3 separate regions of the Homo sapiens genome follow, and all the other regions are linked to region 3. The links are contacts of gene promoters, found by promoter capture Hi-C in blood cells and fetal thymus (Javierre and others, 2016). All regions are on one chromosome and are shown on one strand. Each heading gives the region's core, a stretch centred on a gene start or on the middle of the fragment in contact. The rest is flanking DNA. Distances are from core to core; before and after follow the strand shown.

What was found. The method cuts DNA at HindIII sites, captures the fragments that hold promoters and counts their contacts. A CHiCAGO score of 5 or more calls a contact.
Region 1: a fragment that was not itself captured here is called in contact with the fragment with the promoter of HADH in region 3 in 1 of 17 cell types (neutrophils); the score reaches 5.2 in neutrophils.
Region 2: a fragment that was not itself captured here is called in contact with the fragment with the promoter of HADH in region 3 in 2 of 17 cell types (monocytes and M2 macrophages); the score reaches 5.4 in monocytes.

The regions. Positions count from the first base shown.
Region 1 is chr4:107,737,615-107,740,452 of GRCh38, forward strand. No RefSeq gene overlaps it. Among named protein-coding and RNA genes, the nearest start is that of PAPSS1, 19 kb to the left of the region's middle. The HindIII fragment of the contact is 7,745 bases long and covers 1-2,838 here.
Region 2 is chr4:107,757,925-107,760,624 of GRCh38, forward strand. No RefSeq gene overlaps it. Among named protein-coding and RNA genes, the nearest start is that of PAPSS1, 39 kb to the left of the region's middle. The HindIII fragment of the contact is 1,628 bases long and covers 518-2,145 here.
Region 3 is chr4:107,988,461-107,991,300 of GRCh38, forward strand. It overlaps HADH (hydroxyacyl-CoA dehydrogenase), which reads left to right and starts at 1,429. Exons shown (of 8, transcript NM_005327.7): 1 at 1,429-1,604. The coding sequence starts at 1,473. RefSeq lists a silencer at 1,196-1,425. The HindIII fragment of the contact is 11,946 bases long and covers 1-2,840 here.

The DNA.
Region 1 (2,838 bases), core at 134-2,633, 250 kb before region 3:
AAGAGAAATAGCTGTTATGCGTTGCCCAGGCCATCAGTGCAACAATTCTGAAGTAGCTAGGGGAAATGCTTTCTTAGATTGCACAGCCAGGCACCTAGCCAGCTCCAATGTTGAACTCCGGGTTCCTTTAATTCCCCAAATAGATTTGGCAGCCTTCAAACCTAGGTACAGTCTTGAGGACGAAAAGGCTACCAAGGACAAAGGGTTTATTCAGGATGAAAAATGACTGGAAATTGAATGACAAAGGCCTAATCTGGGTGTCAGAGATAAAATTTCTTTTATCCTATTCTTTCTGTTTACACCTAGTATTGTTTCTGCATCCACTGCTAACCTCCTTCTACAATGGGCACAGGACTATGCAGACAGCCTCCAGCATGATTCCTGTTAGGTCTGTGGCCTGTTACCCCTTTCTAGCACCACCGTGGTGGGTCTCACCTATGCAAGGGAAAGATTGGAGACATTTACAAGTCTTCCTGGATTTAAAACACTGGACCGGCTCACAAATGATGGGAGTGACTAAGGCAAATGTGTCAGAATGGCTGCACAACTTTCAATGACCCAGGACATGGGTCTTTCCTTCACCCAATACTAAAATATATTCATGATGGCACAACTTTTGGGCAAGATGCCTCATTAACTTTCATATAGAAGTATACGAAAAGGAATGAGGGCCCATTTAGAAAGTATAATCCTACGATGCCACTTTTGCACTAAAAATGAGCCCAACAACCATAATACAGGACAGCCTGGACAGCAAGGGAGAGGGAAACAACCACTAGAGAATTGGCAAATTGACTTTACTCAAATGCTACCTGCCCCAGGAGGGTACAAATATCTCCTAGTTCTGGTGGACACCTTCTCAGGCTGGGTAGAGGCATACCCATGCTGCTCTGAGTGGGCAATGGAGGTAGTTAAGGTACTGCTAAAGGAAATCATTCCTCGATATGGGTTTCCTGACATTATCCAGAGTGACAATGGACCTTCATTCACATAGGAAATCGCCCAACAAGTAAGAAAAGTGCTAGGGATAAAATGGAAGCTACACACAGCCTGGAGGCCTCAGTCCTCCAGACAAACTGAAAGAATAAATCATACCTTAAAAACAACCCTCGCCAAGCTATGTCAGGAAACACGGCTAAAGTGGCTTCAGTTGCTTGGGATTCCTCTGCTCCAGGTAAGAATAGCTCCCAGAAGTGGGATCAAATGAAGTCCCTGTGAAATCATTTTCAGGAGGCCTTTTGTAGCCAACTTGTCCCAGGTGGCTAGAATGTCTCCAGACAAGGAACTAGCTATTAAAACTTATGCCACTCACTTGGAACAAACTCTTAATCCCTTGCATAAATTTTCTTCTAACAGAAACGTCATAGACTCCGTGGAAGCCCACCACCCGTTCCAGTCTGGAGATCAAGTGCTGCAGAAAGAATGGAAGGAAGCTGGTCCTGCCCAACAACTACAAGAGAAATAGAAAGAGCCCTATGATGGGCTGTTGACTACCGACTCAGCACTGAAACTAGCAGGCATCAAACCTTGGGTTCATCATATGTGGGTAAAGAAATTCCAGTCGCCCAAGAACTCCACCACAGAAACACCTGTAGCCACTCAATGGGAGGCAGAGCCCCTAGAGGACCTAAAGTTTCTATTCAGAAAACGATAAGAATTTCTTTTATCCTATTCTTTCTCTTTATACCTAATATTGTTTCCGCACACACTGCTAACCTCTTTCTACAATGGGCACAGGACTATGCAGACAGCCTCCAGCAGGATTCCTGTTGGGTCTGTGGCCTGTTACCCCTTTCTAGCACCACAGTTTACTGTGGTGGGTCTCACCTATGCAAGGGAAATATTAGAGACATTTACAAGTCTTCCCGGATTTAAAACACTGGACTGGGTCACAAATGATGGGAGTGACTAGGGCAAATGTGTCAGAATGGCCCATAAACAACTTTAAATGACCCTTTAAATGACATGAAAAGCCATTCTTGATTAACATAACAAGAGACGAAGTTATAGCACTAGCTACTCCCTTGTTAGAACCAAAAGTGCCCATCCAAACTTTTAAACCCCAAAATGTTTGATACCAGAGTGGCTTTCTCCAAATTTGGGTTGGGCTCATATGGTTAACCACCTCTACTGGGCACTTGAGTCAACTAGCCCCCTTGTGTTGGGAACAATGAAACCACTCCCTTGACCACTGACCCAATGCCACATGGGTTATGGGATGGATTCTCCCAGATCGGTGCCAACATATTATAGCACTCCAGCAAAGGGATGTATTTGCCACAGATTGGTCTCAACGGCCCGGCCTAAAGATTGGGAGCAATGGCCCAGTATGCTCCCAACAGGACTCAATGGCTTTGTGGCACCAATTTGTGGCTGTGGCTCCCTGTGGGCTGGCTAGGACGCTGGACTCTAGGCCTCCCATAGCACAAGGTTGCTGGGTAAAAAAAAAAAAAAAAAAAAAAATCCAGCCTGTTGTCCACATATGATTAATAGGTGGACTAGGTCAGTCTTTCATTAGTATGATCATCTAGCTGCAATATTCATGCCCTCAGTAGGGCTAGGAACTGTCATATGGCACATAGAAGCCCTAGCTAACTTTACCAAAAGGGCTCTGAATGACAGCCTCCAGAGCATCTCTCTAATAAATACTGAAATGTGTCACATGCGGAAGGCTATTCTATAAAACCGAATGGCCTTGGACATCCTTACTGCAGCTCAAGGGGGAACTTGTGCCCTCATCAAAACTGAATGCTGTGTGTATATTCCAGATAACTCTGGGAACATCTCCCTGGCATTAAAAGATGTGCACCAGCAAATTCAGGCCATCTCCAGCCTAGA
Region 2 (2,700 bases), core at 82-2,581, 230 kb before region 3:
TCTTCCCTAAATTTTTAAAACTCTCCTCAGTTACCTCAGGAAATTCCTTCTTGATCTCTGGTTCCAATTTTAAAGAGTCAAGATCCAGTTATATTTTGAAGTAACCTTTTTATATTACACGAATTTTATGGGAATAATTCTAAAGGTGAACACTAGATGGCAACATTTTTAAATTTTGCTGTTCTAAAATCTAGTCTGATAGATGGCAAATGCTGAGAGCCTCCAAATAGGAGTATATAGTTCTTTAGTTTCTTAAACATTTTTTCCTTCTAGTTTTTAAACATCAGATAAGCTTTTAGATCTCTCCATAAAGGAACTGTATGGTGTTTAATTCTTAAAAATAAAGCATTTCTTTTTTATATCTTATATAATCCCTTTTTATATCTTATATAATCGTTCTAAAATATTTTCTAATTTTATTTTTTCCTTAAAATAACAAATCTAAGCTGTATCTATTTATTAATTGTGCCATATTCTGTTTAAGGTATTTTCAGTAGTTTAGTTCTTTGAAATAATAAGCTTTTATTTAATTTTACAGAGAGCTAGAGATGATATTTTATATAATATATATAACAGAGGTATACATACTTTTTCCTTTCCTCATGTGTTTTCTTATGGAAATTTGAGCTCAGAGACTAAAAATAACAGGTGAGAATTTCCTGTCATGAGGATGAGGAAGAGTAGGGGTGTAGTTTCTACGAAAAAGTAATTGTTTTGCAAATCTTCTAATTTTCCTTAGGAAGTGAAAATGTGAACTGGGATTTCATTCCTGGTAAAAATGTAAAATTCTTTAAATAAAAATATACCTTATTATAAAAATATATTTTACACTAAGGAGCTTTTAATACAAAACATCACTTAGGACTCCAAGACCAAAATGGACAAAGAATAGGAACGATAAAGAAGACATGCAAAAAGCTAATTACCACATGAAAAGGTTAAAAATCACTAGCAGTTTTACAAAGCAAGAATCAAATGCTCTTTTGCCTTTAAGTTTAGCAAAAATAAAAACAATGTTTGCTGTCTTCCCCTCCCCATTATCAGACTGAATATTCAAAATATTGTAGTAACAGCCTGAGTTCAAATCCCAGCTCAGAATTCTACCTATCTATCTGGACTTGGTCCAATTTTTTTACTTCTCTCCACTACAGTTTCCTAATCTGTAAAACAGGACTAGTTAGCAAAATGAGGATTAAATATGTTAATCCATGTAAAGTTTAAAAAAGGGTACCTGGGCTGGGCATGGTGGCTCACGCCTGTAATCCTAGCACTTTGGGAGGCCGAGGTGGGCATATCACAAGGTCAAGAGATCGAGACCATCACGGCCAACATGGTGAAACCCTGTCTCCACTAAAAAATACAAAAATTAGCTGGGTGTGGTGGTTGGCACCTGTAATCCCAGCTACTTGGGAGGCTGAGGCAGGAGAATCACTTGAACCTGGGAGGTGGAGGTTGCAGTGAGCCAAGATTGCGCCACTGCACTCCAGCGACAGAGCGAGACTCCGTCTTAAAAAAAGAAAAAGTACCTGGTTGGCATGATGATATTTTGAATACACTGAGTTAAAGAGAATATATTATTAATTTTGTAAGAATACCTGGCATATATGTGTTTACCTAATATATGTACCAGTTATATTAGCATTGTATAAATATTACATAGTATAAATATTATAATTTTATTCCAGTGGTGGATTGGGTATAGAATGTTTAAAAAAATAAACAACAGAACTATAAAGATAAGTAGACAAAAAAGGCTACAGAAATATTATTAGAAAAAGAAACAGAAGGATCTTCTAGAAATGTAACTGTTTAATTTTTTAATCAATAAACAGATTAAACAGGTTTTAAAGGTATTTAGAAATAAACTGAGCATCAATAATATTCACAATCATAAATAAACTTAACTCACTATTAAATGGTTGATTGTCCAGTTGTATTTAAAAAATCCAGCTAAATACTGTTTAGAATACGGGGACATAAAACATAAGGACATAGTAAAAAGTTAGTAAAAAGATATACCTGACAGATATTAACCAAAAGAAATCTTGATGGAATATTAGTATTGAAACAAGTTTATGACCAAAAATATAAAAACAAAAACAAATCACCCCAAAACATTATTAAGGAAAACTAAGTTCACCAAGAAGCTTTAATGATTTCAGTTTTGTATGTGCTTGATAAAAGAGCCTTAAAAATATAAAGCAATAATTGATAGAATTACAGGAAGAAATGGACAACTCTACCATATAATGGAAGATTTCAATATTCATTCACTCATCTTATTCAACAACTATTTTTGAGTGTCTGCAGGCTAGGGACTCTTCTACTCACTGGGAAGAAAACATAAAAATCCTTACCTTTTTGAAGCCTAGATTATAATGGAAGGAGAGAGAAAATATATACAAATACTTAAATATAGTATAACCTTATGGAAATATATCCAGGATAACATAAATTCTAAAACTATAAAATGGATGTTTCGCTCCCATCCACCACTCTATCCTACATGTAGAACAGATAGGGAGGAGGAATATTGCTTTTGTTCTGAGGTTGGGGGATGGAATAGGGTACATAATAGATAGGGCAGCCAGGCAGCAAACTAGCACAAAATCCACAGGAGAAGTGGAGTTCGAATCCCGCTTGCTCAGTAATTGCCCCATTCAATATTCCCAAACTGGGCCAACAAAATTTGCACTATCT
Region 3 (2,840 bases), core at 179-2,678:
AGACTCCTGTTAAGGTGTGTACCTCAGTTTATTGCTATACTCCTTCTCGTGGCCATAATAGTCTCCCTGATGTGTTGTTGTCCCCTCGAGAGTCTTCAATGTCTCTATGCAGCCATCCTTTGTACACCAAATGGTGTTATTACAGTTAGAATAACAACATGAAGAAAGTATAATCACTCAACTAATTTGACATTGTGACTTCCATACTGAGACAAAACAAGGTTCTGGTCAATCTCGTAAAACTGAGAGGCTGACCCAAAGGAGGAAACTGTTATTAAATTAAATCTGGCCTAAAGTTGCCTCCCTACCTAGCAAAGCATAATCAAACCTAATATGTAAATAAACTGCAATGTAATTTGAGAGTACGTTCTTCTAACAAGTGGCCAAGTCTTGGCCAATCACCGCAGCGGAGCTTTTAGCCCATTACAGGCTGCAAAAAATATTGTCTATAAACGCGGCTTGCCCACTGTTAGGGGCTGGAGCTCTCTGAACCTTTACTGGCTCAGGATACTACATGATTCATGCTTTCTTTGCTCAGATAAACTCTGCTAAACTTGTTTGAAGTTTTTTTGTTAACAATATTTAAACATAAAGCAAATAAATTAATAAGAATCCTATATCACTAAGTTACAGTAATTAGAAAGTATTCACCTGAGTGAGAAGATTGGCCAAGCTGCTATCCAGTCTTCCATTATTTGACAAGACATTTCTTTCCTATGCTTTCTAATAGTATTCGTTATTCCAGAAAGGTTGCTCTATGACCTTAAACCGTCCACATGTTCACTGCACTGATAGACGTCCAACGTCAAGATGGGTAACTAAAGGTCAACTCTCTCTTTACCTTCCCTGAGCCTGATTTTTGCATTGTAACTCATGGTCACTAGACATTTGTTTTGGGTGTTCGCAGTCTACATTTATTTCCCTTTTAGGGGAAACAATCACTGTCCACGGGATTAAAATAATCCCGAGTTGATTATTTGGTGACATCAACCAACGGTGCACATTTTGGGTCCATTACCAACACAGCCAAGCAGCACATATTTCTTCAGAGCCTAGATATGCACATGTCATCAAAGGATAGCATTTTACAGAGTCAACACCACTCACTTCATAGAACAAGGGGCCAGTGGCTTTTCAGAAGAAGGGTCTGTTCTCGGCCCCACACCAGAACGCCAGCCGCCAGGTCCCGCTGCTCAGCAGGTCTCAAGCCCGCGCTCACTCGGGCTCCGGCTGCTGACAGCTGCGAGCCCGCGCGTGTATACCCGCTCAACGCTGGGACGTTACAGCCAGGGCCAATGGGCAGAGCGGGACTCGAGGCCCCGCCCCCGCCTTGTGGCGTCACGGGGACGCCGGGGGCGCGCGGGCTGCAGGGCCGCGTAGGTCCCCGCCCCCAGAGTCTGGCTTTCCGCGGCTGCCCGCCTCGCGCGTCTTCCCTGCCCGGGTCTCCTCGCTGTCGCCGCCGCTGCCACACCATGGCCTTCGTCACCAGGCAGTTCATGCGTTCCGTGTCCTCCTCGTCCACCGCCTCGGCCTCGGCCAAGAAGATAATCGTCAAGCACGTGACGGTCATCGGCGGCGGGCTGATGGGCGCCGGCATTGCCCAGGTGAGCGGCCCTCCCTGCAGCGTGCCCACGCGCTTGGCCGCCCACCCTGAGGTGGAAGCTCTGGCGCGACCGGCCGCGAGGGGCCTGCACCCGCCCGACACCAGGGAGTTTTCACCCCGCGCCTCCCGGGTGTAGTTGAAATATCTCGCGTCTGGGCCTGTGAGGGCCCAAGTCTCACTCCCCTCAAAATTCAGGGTTCTGGGCCGATCCTCAGCTTCCTCGTTTGGAAAATTCTGGCTGCCCCCAGGGCCCGCTGAAGGTTCCATGGAGAGTGGCGGTGAATGCATTTTGGAAGCGGGCCGTGCAAGAGAAGAAAGAATTGTATGTGCACAAGGTTCAGGCATAACGCGTTTGTTCCTGCTCGGCTCAAACGGGAGTTTGCTGCCAAAGACATGAACTGCGATCAGTTTTAATTCTATCAGTTATTTTTGATTTTTATTCTGTAATTGTGCAGTCTTTGTCAAAGTAGTTTTCTCTCCTAAACGGCCTCCCGGCTCTCCCCGGTCTTTCCTTCGCTTGCTAGGTTGTAAAGAATAGTAGTAGTCATGACTTTTGTAGCACTTTGTAAAGTCACCTAATGGAAGATTGCTGAGGTCCTGGTTTTGACCTTTGAAATAGTGCCGTCTGTGCAGAGTTCTGAGCTTGCGATTTTGGCGCTGCAGCGGAATAAGTCTCTCTCTTTTTTTTTTTTTTTTTTTTTTTGAGTCGGAGTCTCTTTGACCCAGGCTGGAGTGGAGTGCAATGGCGCGATCTCGGTTCACTGCAACCTCCGCCTCCCGGGTTCAAGCGATTCTCCTGCCTCAGCCTCCCGAGTAGCTGGGATTACAGGCGCCCCGCCCGGCTAATTTTATATTTTTAGTAGAGACAGGGTTTCACCTTGTGGGTCAGGCTGATCTCGAACTCCTGACCAAAGGTGATCCGCCCGCCTGGCCTCCCGAAGTGCTGGGATTACAGGCGTTAGCCACTGCACCCAGCCGGAACAAGTCTTTTATCCATTGTACATCTTCAGGGCTTTTCCATTGTTCTGCTGAGCTGTGGTTCAGGCTCAGTTGTGCGAGTGATTGATTACCTGGCTACTGTAATGCTTGTACTTTTTTTTTTTAAAAATTATTCCATTTCAGCTCACATTGGAGAACCATGGTTTTCGTATCCTAGCTGATTATATTCTTAGCATTTCAGTCCTTTGCAACTTGGTTTGTTGGGGAAGGCGGTTATAGTCATCTAATTTTTCTTGGG